2 separate regions of the Homo sapiens genome follow, and region 2 is linked to region 1. Evidence: promoter capture Hi-C in human tissues and cell types (Jung and others, 2019). All regions are on one chromosome and are shown on one strand. The core of a region is centred on a gene start or on the middle of the fragment in contact, and the rest is flanking DNA. Distances in the headings are between cores, read along the strand shown. Region 1 holds the start of IL17D (interleukin 17D). Region 2 overlaps LINC00367 (long intergenic non-protein coding RNA 367).

Region 1 (6,066 bases), core at 3,403-5,902:
CGTATGGAAAGCCACCTTCCAAATGCCTATTGTAAAACTTATCCACCTAAAGTGATCCTTGCTGTGCCCATCAGTACTCCTGACGTTCAGTCCATCTCCCTATCTGTCTTTCTCAGCATTCTCTCTGACTGCTGTGCCTTTAGGGCGTGGTGGCTTGGGCCTGTAATCCCAGCACTTTAGGAAGCCAAGGCAGGCAGATCACTTGAGGCCAGGAGTTCGAGACCAGCCTGGCCAACATGGCGAAACCCTGTCTCTACTAAAAATACAAAAATTAGCTGGGCGTGGTGGCATGCACCTGTAATCCCAGCTACTCCAGAAGCTGAGACAGGAGAATTGCTTGAACCCAGGAGATGGAGGTTGTAGTCTGCCAAGATCATGCCACTGCATTCCAGCCTGGGTGACAGAGCAAAACCCTGTCTCAAAAGAAAGAAAGAAAGAAATACCACCTGACCCTGTGCCCAGCCTGCAGGTGGGCACTCCTCTACCCAGGCCCCACCCTCAGACACTCCACCAAGGAACAAGCCCTGGCCTGGCACCATGGCTTACGCCTGTAATCCCAGCACTATGAGAGGCTGAGACAGGAGGGTCACTGGAGCCCAGGACTTCAAGACGAACCTGGGCAACAAAGTGAGGCCCCCATCTCTAAAAAACAAAACAAAAAAACTAGCTGCATGTGGTGGTGCGCACCTGTGGTCTCAGCTACATGGGAGGCTGAGGTAGGAGGATCCCTTGAGCCTAGAAGGTCAAGGCTGCATTGATCTGTCTGTGTCACTGCACTCCAGGCTGGGTGGCAGAGCGAGATTCTGTCTAAAAGAAAAAACCTGTCCTTCCACAACATCTTTTAGTAGAGGCTCCACACTTCCATTGGCTCACTATTTCTTTTCCTTTTTTTTTTTTTTTTTTTTTTTTTGAGACAAGTTCTCACTCTGTTGCCCAGGCCGGAGTGCAGAGGCACAATCATAGTTCACTACAGCCTCAGCCTCCCTGGCTCAAACTTCCCAAGTAGCTGGGACCACAGGCAAACATGACCACACCTGGCTGTTTTTTTTGTAGTGATAAGTCTCATACTATGTTGCCCAGGCTGGTCTCAAACTCCTGGGCTCAAGTGATCCTCCCACCTCCGCCTCCTGAGTAGCCGGGGATTTACAGGTGAGCCACTGGGCCTGGCTGGGTCTCACTTTTTCTAATCTTCCCAATAACCCAAAAGATGGTGAGAGGTGATTGGAGGGAGGAGGGCAGAGAGGGCTCTCCTGGCAGGAAAATGCAGGAGCAGCTTTGGCAGTCAGCAATCTGGAGTCCCAGCCCAGCAGCCATCCCCTGAAGACTGTCCTTCCTTCAGCAAATATAAGCCACCCACCTCCGTTTGCCCATGGGGAGTGATCTCATCACTGTTGCTAAATAATATGAAAAATGATGCACATGACACCTTCAGCCACCCTGCTGCAGCTGCCACTCCTGCTCCTGGGACCACCCAGCACTGAGGTTCCACATGTGGGCAGATCTGGGTGGCCCAGACCACGATCCCCGAACCCTGTGTGTCATTCTCATCCATAACCTCCCTCGGCTCCCAGATCCTGCCTGGGGCGACATAGGTGTCATCTGTAGCAAGGGCAACTCAATTTAACTTCCCACACACAGAATGCCAGTGCTGCTAACTCTCCATGTGTCCTCCAGCCCTGCTCTGTCTCCTGAGCTCCAACCAGTCATTGTCACCTGTACGCCTTTCAGGCAGGCAAAACTCAACAGGCTTGTTACTAAATTCATTATTTCCTCCCACAACACTTGTTCCTAAGTGTATTTTCTCATTTTGCTCAAATACCATCAACAACCCAAGCCAGAAACATGAGAGACATGCCTTTGGGAGGCTATATACTACTCTTAGGCCCTTGGCCCAGCCTGTGGGGAGCCACGGGTTTGCCTGAGAGTTCGAATCTGCTATAGAAAGCAGGGCCAGCAGCTTCTGTCCAGAGAAGTTAATCTCTGGTTCTGAGAGATTCCTTATGTGGCTTTAATCCTATTTGGTATATCAGAAGCATAACACGAGGTTAGAGAAAGAAGAATGCCGTAGTCCATCCCTTCAGGTCCTGGAAATGGAGGAAGAGAGAGGAAAAGCAAGAGCACCAAGATACCAGAATGAATGGCGCCATGTGTGTGCCCTGCAGGCTCCAGCTGAAGGACAGGAGTGAGAAGGGCGGGAGGGGTCCCACCCAACTTCCCCGTGGGCAGGGGCTCTGAGGGGGCTCTGCCACAGTGAGCTTGGTCCTCTGCAGAGTAGCCAGGAGGCAGGAGGCCCTAAAACTTGGCTTCCCAGGACAGCATAGGGGTCCTGTGTGTTGTTGAGTAAAAGGAAATCTCCCTACCCAGCAGCCGGCAGGGAGAGGCTCCAGGAAAGCCCAGATGCGTTTTAGACAAAATCATCACATTTCCTCTGACTCTCCACAGCACTTGTCTTCTTTAATGAGCATCTTTCACGCTGATCCTAGTCTCCCCTTCCCACCGCGCTGCCTGAGTGAAGCCCTAGATCCTTTGGATGGAAGTGCTGGAGAGCATTGTCCAATCCATGCCCCATTGGGACACCCTCCTAAACCAGAGTGGCTGTATGGCTTCCTCCATCTCAAGTGTCAAGACTTTTTTTCTCTTTAATTTTTATTTTAGAGACGGGGTCTCGCTTTGTCACGCAGGTTGGAAGGCAGTGGCGCCACCACAGCTCACTGCAGCCTGAACCTCCCGGGCTCAATCTATCCTCCCACTTAAGCCTCTGGAGTAGCTGGGACCACAGGCACGTGCCACCACACTTCGCTAATCCTTAAAAATTGTTTGCAGAAATGGGATCTCGCTATGTTTCCCAGGCTGGTCTCGAACTCCTGGACTTAAATCCTCCTGCCTCGGCCTCCCAAAGTGCTGGGATTCCAGGCGTGAGGGTGAAGCTCTGCACTGCTGACAAGGCGGGGATCCAGCTCCTGCACCTGTCTCCAGCCTTACATCGATGCCCACCCCACAGGCAAACACCTCGCCTACGCCCCCCCACCCCCACCGCCCCCGCTCGCCTTGTGGCTCTCCCCATTTTCCAAGCGCTTTGTTCCCGCTTGCTATCAGCTGTCCCTTCCCTCAGCACTGCCTTTGTAGGCGACTTGCTCTCCTCCATCAAGACTCAGCTCTTTCACGAAGCCTTTCTTGACCTCTGTGGCCCTGGGAGGCCTTGCCCCCTAGGGCAGCTCCTCCTGCTCCAGCTAGAGGGAAGACGGTCACAGGTGCCTGCTGAGGACACTGCGGCACCCTGCCTACACGCCCCCAACTTCTCCAGCCTTCCCCTTCTGCAGGCTGTCCCTTTCTTCTGAAATGACCTCTGTTCCAAGACCAAAATACTCTCGAAACTGTTCATGTCACTTCATGCACTGCCTGATGGTGTGGTTTCTTTCCCAATTATCCCCACTCCTTCCTTAGGCTATTAAACTAGAGGGGCTCAGAGGGCGCTTCCCAGGGCTCCACTCCAGCAGCCTCTGGACCACAGGGGCACTCAGGAAATATGTGGATAGTACCGCGCACCCCCCAGCAGCACCTCCCCGGGCCCCCTGTGCAGAGTACGGTCCACATCACTGTGTCCACATCACGGAAGGGTCCCCAGCTAGTGCCTTGCGGACCCATCCAACCTGGAGGAGATGAGGTGTTCAAGAGATACGTGTTGCATAGGAAATACTGGAGGGTAAAGAGAGGAAGCAGGACTCCTTCAAGGGAGGTGGTGGGGGTGGGCCTTCGCAGTTTAGGAATTGCCCCCCAGTGCTCCAACTGCCCCGCCCCACCCCGCCTCATCGCAGCGCCCCTCGCACCCCACCCCACCCTACCGTACCCTACCCTGTCTCGCCCCGCACCACCCCACCCCTACCTGCTCCGCCTCGCCCCGCGTGCCACGCCCCCTCCGCGTCGCCCCGCCCCAACCACCTCCCCTTCCCCGCCCCACCCTCCCCGCCTGCCCGGCCTCGGCCCGGCCCCACCCACTCTCCCCGCCCAGCCCTGCCCTCCCCACCTGCCGGGCCCCGCCAGGACGCGCCCGCGGCTCACCTGTAGGCCCAGGGCGACACGCTGCGCAGGTTGGTGGGCGGCCGGAAGCGGCGGTCGGCGGGCCTGCCCCCTGCCGGGCAGCTCGCGTTGCGCGCCTGCTCACGCGGCCCCAGCTGCAGCGTGTGGTGGAAGGCACTGAGCACGCCGGCCGCCAGGCGCCCGTACAGCTGCTCCAGTAGCTCCTCCGGCCGGTCCGCGCAGCCCCGCGGCCGCGCGGGGCGCCTGCCCGCCCTCGGGGCGCCCGCGGCCCAGCTCGGCGGCAGCGCCAGCAGGAAGCCGGCTACCAGCATCCAGACCTGAGGGACAGGCCACGCTCAGCGTCCGCACGCGCCGGAGGAGCCCGCCTGCGCCCCGCGCCCGTGTCCCGCCCGCGGCGCCCGGAGCCGGCGGGCGCCTCCCCTCGCCCCGCGGAGCCAGAGGCCGGCCCGGAGGATGGGAGCCGCGCGGGCGGGCCCCAGAGCGCCCTCCCCGCCTGCCCGCCGCCCGCGGGGTCCCCGGGGCCCAGCCCGGCGCCGGCCCGCGCGCCCCCGGCCCCCGCCGCCGCCGCCGCCCCGAGCCGGGGGCCGCACGGGGGGCGGGTGCGGGGCGCGCGTGCACGTGTGCGTGTGCCTGCCGGGTTGCTGCGCCGCGGGCTGCGAGTGCTTGTGACCCGCCGCACCCTCACCCCCGGGCGCGCCATCCCTGCTCCGCCGCCAGCGAGGGAGCCCCGGAGCCTAAGACGCCCGGACCCGCCGCCTCGCAGACCCACCCTTGCCCCTGCGCCTCGTCATCCGCCCGCCCCAGCCAGCCCGCGCAGGGTCCGCGGCCCGCTTTTCCGCGAGAAGCCCCCTGTGGTCTTTCCTCGTACCCGGGGACTCGGACCGAGAAGCCGACTGAGCGAGGTCGCCGCCCGGCCTCACGGACACAGAGCGACTCTGCACCTTTCGCCTCCAGGAGCTGAAAACATTTTGTCACTTGTGCAGTGTACTCACCAGTGCCCCCAACATCTTCTCCCCCGAAAGCGCTTTCAGATTCGCGCCGAGATGGGGCGACGCGGCGGCTCTTGAGCGGAATAACCCGAAGGGCCACGCAAACTGGGGCTTCCAGCCGCGAGCATGCGGCGGGGCGCCCAGGGCCTGGGGTCGCGCGCTCAGGGCCTGTGCTGCGCCACGCAGGAGGAGGAGAGGGCTGGCCCTGCCGGGCGCGGGTGCGGGCCCGACTGGCTGAAGGAGGAGTGGGGACTGGCTTGGAAGTCTCCGAAGCAGAAAAGTGGGGCCGACAGGATGGAATTGGGGGAGGCCGATTTTGGCTCAGAGAGATTTCTCTATTAAGGAAAGCAGTCCAAGAATAGGCCCCCTGGAAGAGGAATGCGCTCAAACCCAGAGGGATTCTCCTTAGAGCTACCTCTTGAGATTCTGTACTTCGAGGAAATTAGAGGTTTTTTTAAATCTCTATTTTTAATAAGGTGGGAGGAGGCTGTTGCTCCTTTCTCCTCAACAACATGAAATGATCCTGTGCCTCTATCCAACAACTCTACAACAAAGCACTGAATACTTCCCTGACTGGCACTTTCATGGCTGTTCATGGGCATCTCTTGGTCTATGACGACGATGTTGGAGAGTTCCTACTCCGTGATAACTCAGTTCTAAGTGCAAGCAGTCACGTGAAATGAGCCTGATAGTCTGCGAATGAAGAAACTAAAACGAACTATATTATATACTTCATAACACAAGACAACGTGCTCGTTTGTTCATTCTGCAAGTAAATGCTTAATGCTTCCTAGGTGGCAGGCTAAAGAATATGATCATTTTAAAGCAGTCATGCTTTGAAAATAAACAACCCATCCCAGCTGTAAGCTTTTTGAAAGTGTACAAAATATGTAATTGATGACTCCCTAAATGGTTTGCAGCTTTGGTATTTGACTGAATTGTAAACCATTAGTTAAACTACATTTCAGTTATGCTTTGTAGGAAAAACACTTTCCTATGCATTGAATGTTCTATAACTAAGGAGCTTAGTAATCTACTG
Region 2 (6,066 bases), core at 1,541-4,040, 230 kb before region 1:
GAAATACGGCAAAGTTTTAAAAAATGGTGACCTCTTGTAGGTGATACAATTGTGGGTGATTTTTTTCTTCCTGATTTTTTTTTTTTTTTGAGACTGAGTCTCAGTCTGTCGCTAGGTCAGATTGCAGTGGCGCGCGCCACCACGCCCAGCTAATTTTTTGTATTTTTAGTAGAGACTGGGTTTCACCATGTTGGCCAGGCTGGTCTCGATCTCTTGACCTTGTGATCTGCCCACCTCAGCCTCCGAAAGTGCGGGGATTACAGGCATGAGCCACGGTGCCCAGCCTTTTCTTCCTAATTTTAAACATCTTCTGTATATTTCCAAATTTTCTACAGTGTAAGTGTGATATTTTACAGCACGATTATTAGAAGGTAAAAATGGGTGAGGCTCTAGGATTTCGAAGGTCACTTTCAGCTCTAAAATTCCTTAATTCACACAGCTCTTATCACTATGGTTTGTTTGTTTTTTGACTTTCCACTGATAGTAACAGAAGAGTATATTACACATTTCCTAATAGCAATGTTATGCATGTCATTGCCTGAGATTCCTAAATCTTGTGCAAGATTTCAACATTATCTGTAGAACTTAAGTGCTAGATTGTGATCTTTTATGAAGTTTTTGAGTGTTGTCAACAGACTGAGTGTTCAGATGAAAATGCCGGGAGAGGACAATACTCGTAAATGTGCATTTCTACATTTAGATATAGCACATTAGTTAGTGCTTCATCATTCAAGAGACATTTAAATTTTACTACATTATAATAACATTCTTAAGAGTTTCCTTAAGACAAGGAGATAAACTCAGTTATTGCTAAGCAAGAATCTGCTGAAACAGTAAACAAACAGGTATAAACAAGTGCATTTGAGTGTGTGGCCACATGCCTGTCACTCCCAAATTCTTGTCCTTTGTTCCCAGCTGGGGAGAAGGTAAACAGAAATGGAGAATGAGGAGTCTCAGCTCCTGGCCTCCGGCCTGCTCAAGCGAAGGGGTAGGAGATCATCCCGCCACTTGCCAGGGATATTTTGGGGATATATCTGACACTGGGTCACATGCACTAGTTGGCCTGCAACAAATCTCAGTCTCCCAGCCAGTCGGCAGCAGATCAGGCACTCCTGTCTTTGAGCCACTGTGGAAGGAACTAGCCTGGGCAGCTCCTCAAAGGGGCTCTTGCTCACATCAAAGCTGGACAGTCAGCCCCTGGTGGGCTTCAGATTCAAAGACCCCTTCTGCCCCCCATCCTTGACTGTTGCCCCTCACAGTGGTCTCACTCTTTCCTTCTTAATCAAGTATGTGGGGCCCCTTTTGGGACAAGCATCCTGGATCAGGACCCAGGCTTTTGGTGACCCAATCCAACGATTCCTGACTCATCGCCTTCTGTCCCATAGGCTTGCATTCCTCCATGAGAAATCCCCTTTGCGTCTTCTTTCAGAACTAAACTTTAGATAACTCCTTAAAACCAGAACCCAAATCTTAGCACTATCACCCACTCCCCGCAAAGGGTTACTCTCTACCCCTGAGCAAGGATGGCTTGGTCGGGGGGCATGCCCCTTGCTTTATGGTGGATTGTTACTTTTCATGCAGGGAAAAAAATAAAACGAAACATTAGTGTTTTCATTTAAAAACAAGTTGAACAGTCGTCTCCTGTAAGAGAATCCTGGAGCCCCAGACACACCTAGAAACACAAGTCTGTGCAAAAATACAATGTGTAGATTTATGGAAATGCACATGATGTGAAAAGTCCCTAACGGATGTGTATAAAAATTCGACTTTTTTTTCTTTGAGTCTCACTCTGTCACCCAGGGTGGAGTGAGTGCAGTGGGGCAATCTCGACTCACTGCAGCCTCCGCCTTGTGGGTTCACACGATTCTCTTGTCTCAGCCTCCTGAGTAGCTGGGACTACAGGCGCACGCCACCATGCTTGGCTAATTTTTATATTTTTAGTAGAGACGGGGTTTCACCATGTTGGCCAGGCTGGTCTCAAACCCCTGACCTCAGGTAATCCACCCACCTCGGCCTCCCAAAGTGTTGGGATTTACAGGCATGAGCCACCACGCCCGGCCCAAGTCTTTTTATTCAACACCTCATTTTATTCTTATGCACTGAATGCCACATTGGTTTCTTTTTTCTCTCTCTCTCTCACTCAAAGCACTATTATTAAATCCATGATGCAGCTTACTTTCAACATTATCTTCAAATTTAGGAAATACCATTGTATCATAAGCAGTGGTAATTCCCGTCTGCCAGGTGTCTACCGGGTGAAGGGGTCTTGCTCTGTGCTGGGTGCTCAGAGCCATCCCTGCCCATCTTCGTGCTAATGCCTGGAGGCAGCCACATTAGCTCCACCTCCTGGCTTGGGAGCTGAGGCTCAGAGAGGACAACTAATCAGCCCAAGGTCCCAAGCTAATATGTGGCACACGGAGATCTCAAACCCAGCATGAGGTAGGTACTGTGACCCCTATTGCACAGATGAAAAACAGACATACCGAGATGACGGGAACTCACTCAGGGCACACAAATGATAAGTGGCAGAGAAAAGATTGGAATCAAAATCCTACAAAAATCCTACAAAATTGAGGTGAGGCACAGTGGCTCACACCTGTAATCCCAGCACTTTGGGAGGCCGAGGTGTGTGGATGATCACTTGAGCCCAGAAGTTTGAGACCAGCCCGGGCAACAAAGTGAGACCCCTGTCTTTACAAAAAAATTTAAAAATTAGCCAGATGTGGTGATGTGCCTCTGTAGTCCCAGCTACTTGGGAAGCCAAGGCAGGAGAATCTCTTGAGCCAGAGAGGTCAAGGCTACAGTGAGCTATGATCACACCACTGCACTCCAGCCTGGGTGACAGAGCGAGACTCCGTCTCAAAAAAATAAAAAAAGAAAAAAATAAATAAATAATTAAAAAAAAAAAAAAAAAAAAAGTCTGGGTGCGGTGGCTCACGCTTGTAATCCCAGCACTTTGGGAGGTGGAGGCGGGCAGATCACGAGGTCAGGAGATCGAGACCATGGTGAAACCCCATCTCTACTAAAAATATAAAAAATTAGCCGGGTGTGGTGGTGGGCGCCTGTAGTCCCAGCAACTCGGAGAGGCTGAGGCAGGAGAATGGCATGAACCTGGGAGGCGGAGCTTGCAGTGAGTCGAGATCACGCCACTGCACTCCAGCCTGGGCAACAGATCGAGACTCCGTCTCAAAAAAAAAAAAAAAAAGAAAATTTAGGACACTTTGAAAACACAGTGAACAGACACCTATAGTAATCATTTTCCCTGTCACTAAAACTCATAAAACAATGGCTTTGAATGGCTATATGATATTCCATTATGATGATATAGCCCAAATTAATTAACCATTTACTTGTTATTGGAAATTTAGGTTATTTCCTATTTTAAATAATTTAAAATGTAAATATACCTTGTAAATAACATCATATTGCATATCTTTATACATGATCTTTTTCTTTTCCTTGTATAAGCTTTATCATGAGTACATAATCTTTTTCTGCATCTTTAATTATATTCTTAAGAACATTTTTAATGCTCTTGTTATATATTTCCAAATTGATTTCCAGTGTATACTCCCAGGAGAGGGTTAATTTCATGGTTCCTCTTGTGAATGTTATCTTTATTTTATTCTTTAAATATTTCTTTTCTGTATTTTGAATAAATGTACAACAGAATGTTATGTGGATTTTCTTTTTTCCCATGTTCCAGAATTGCAGCTGAAACCAAAAGCCCTGGACAAAAAATGTGAAGTGTCTGGGAACCTTAGAGACCCCTCTGGGCTTTCCGAGAAAGGCAAGATCCGCAATCAGCTCTCCAGCCTTCTCACCTCCCCAGCCAACAGAAACTCTTCTGTCTCCTGGTTGGACTTGGGCTCAGCCTCAGCTGTTGATTAGGACAACTGTGTCCCCCAAGCAGGGGAAGAAACCTTGGAAGAGATGAAGAACAGGGAGTGAGTAAGAGCGTGTCAGTTGAGTGACCGTGAAGACAGTGGGAATGGAGGCAGCTTACCCATGTCGGGCAGATCCACTCCTCCCAGAACCCTCCCAAAAGCCCCTCCACATGCACCTATGGAAGTTCCAGTATTTGAGGGGTCGCCTCACATAGCCCATGTCAGTTAGCATTAGCCACAGAGGCAGGGACACTCACAAGAACCTTGCTGCCAGCTTTGCACAGGGAACTTACCATGAGGTGATGAAGTTTAAGCTCAGTGCCCTTCACCTGGATAATCTATGTTAATACTCAAAGGTGTCCAACATTTTTTTGAGACTAAGTCTTGCTCTGTCACCCAGGCTGGAGTGCAATGGTTGTGCGATCTCAGCTAACTGCAACCTCTGCCTCCCGGGCTCAAGCAATTCTCCTGCCTCAGCCTCCCAAGTAGCTGGGATTACAGGCACCCACCACCACGCCTGGGTAATTTTTTTTTTGTATTTTTAGTAGAAATAGGGTTTCACCATGTTGGCCAGGCTGGTTTCGAACTCCTAACCTCAAATGATCCTTCCGCCTCAGCCTCCCAAAATGCTGGGATTACAGGTGTGAGCCACCATGCCCGGCCTTTTTTTTTTTTTTTTTTTTTTTTTTTGAGACAAGGTATCACTCTGCTGCCCATGCTGTAGTGCAGTGATGCGATCATAGGTCAATGTGGCCTCCACCTCCTAGCCTCAAGTGATTCTCCTGCCTCGGCCTCCCAAAGTGCTGAAATTACAGGCATGAGCCACTGTACCTGGCTATTTTTTTCACTCTCTCTATTTTTTTTTAGACAAGAGTCTTGCTCTGTTGCCCAGGCTGGAGTGCAGTGGCACGATCTCGGCTCACCGCAAGCTCCTCATCCCAGGTTCACACCATTCTTCTGCCTCAGCCTCCTGAGTAGCTGGGACTACAGGTGCCCTCCACCACGCCCGGCTAATTTTTTGTATTTTTAGTAGAGACGGGGTTTCACCATGTTAGCCAGGATGGTCTCGATCTCCTGACCTCGTGATCCACCTGCCTCGGCCTCCCAAAGTGCTGGGATTACAGGTGTGAGCCACCACGCCCGGCCCTTTTTCACTCTCTTGCCTAGGCTGGAGTGTGGTGGCACAGTCATAGCTCACTGTAACCTCAAACTCCCAGGCTCAAGTGATCCTCTTGCCTCAGCCTCCCCAGTAGCTGGGGACTACAGGTGCATGCCATAAAGTCCAGCTAATTTTTTTTAGGTTTTGTAGAGACAGGCTCTTGCTACATTGCCTGGGCTGGCCTCCAACTCCTGGCCTCAAGTGATCCGCTTGCCTTCACCTCCCAAAGTGCTGAGATTATAGGCGTGAGCCACCACTCCTGAGCCCAACATTTTATACATATTTATAAGCTTCAAGTCTGGATCTTGGATGTGCAGTTGGCAGGCAGTCACATAAGACCTCTGTCTCCCATGCTCTTATTATCATTATTCAGGGCATACATGTGCATGTTTGTTACATGGATATAACGTGGAATGGTGAGGTTTGAGTTTCTAGTGCACCCATCACTAAAATAATGAATCTTCTATGCAATAGGTCATTTTTCAACATGAAATCCCTCCCATCCTCTCCCCCTTTGGAGTCCCCCAGTGCCTATTATTTCCCTTTCCATGGTTTTTTTTTTTCTTTCTCCAATACCAGAAATGTCAGGAAAGACGGAAAAGTGAAGCTGACACCTCCATCCCCTACTGCAGATGATAAGGCACTAGTGCAAATTGCATTGAAGGTTAAAGAATCTGCAACAAAATGTCTTCAGTGGACTGGCTACGCAATGGGAAAGGGTAGTTTGGGTTTTGTTTGTTTGTTTATTTCCCCTCTGCACAGTCCACTGGAAAGGGGTACTTTGATTGTAGAACATTTTGGGACAAAATGATTGGGGGGAACTATTTATGTCATGCTTTTTCACAATGGGCTGACTCCTCAGCTAGATTCAAAAGTTATAAAAAGTTATACAGCTGAGGTTCTCAAACTGTGTGCCAGGGTGGCTTGGGAACAGCAAATTCACAGGGGCACTGTGGGCTGTTTCAAATATTTGAGGGAAACAGCTATGTCAGTTACACACCACTCTAACTACAGTATTAG

Evidence for each region. Contacts are between HindIII fragments. The study calls those that stand out against the background at their distance.
Region 2: a fragment that was not itself captured here is called in contact with the fragment with the promoter of IL17D in region 1 in 2 of the 25 tissues and cell types used here (H1 embryonic stem cells and IMR-90 fibroblasts).

The regions. Positions count from the first base shown.
Region 1 is chr13:20,702,285-20,708,350 of GRCh38, reverse strand. It overlaps IL17D (interleukin 17D), which reads right to left and starts at 4,652. Exons shown (of 2, transcript NM_001385224.1): 1 at 4,060-4,652. The coding sequence starts at 4,349. RefSeq lists silencers at 3,831-4,340, 4,631-4,770, 5,191-5,270. The HindIII fragment of the contact is 9,244 bases long and covers 2,213-6,066 here.
Region 2 is chr13:20,934,785-20,940,850 of GRCh38, reverse strand. It overlaps LINC00367 (long intergenic non-protein coding RNA 367), which reads left to right. Exons shown (of 6, transcript NR_104058.1): 5 at 916-988; 6 at 2,201-2,287. Among named protein-coding and RNA genes, the nearest start is that of LINC00367, 12 kb to the left of the region's middle. RefSeq lists an enhancer at 752-1,251. The HindIII fragment of the contact is 3,224 bases long and covers 1,179-4,402 here.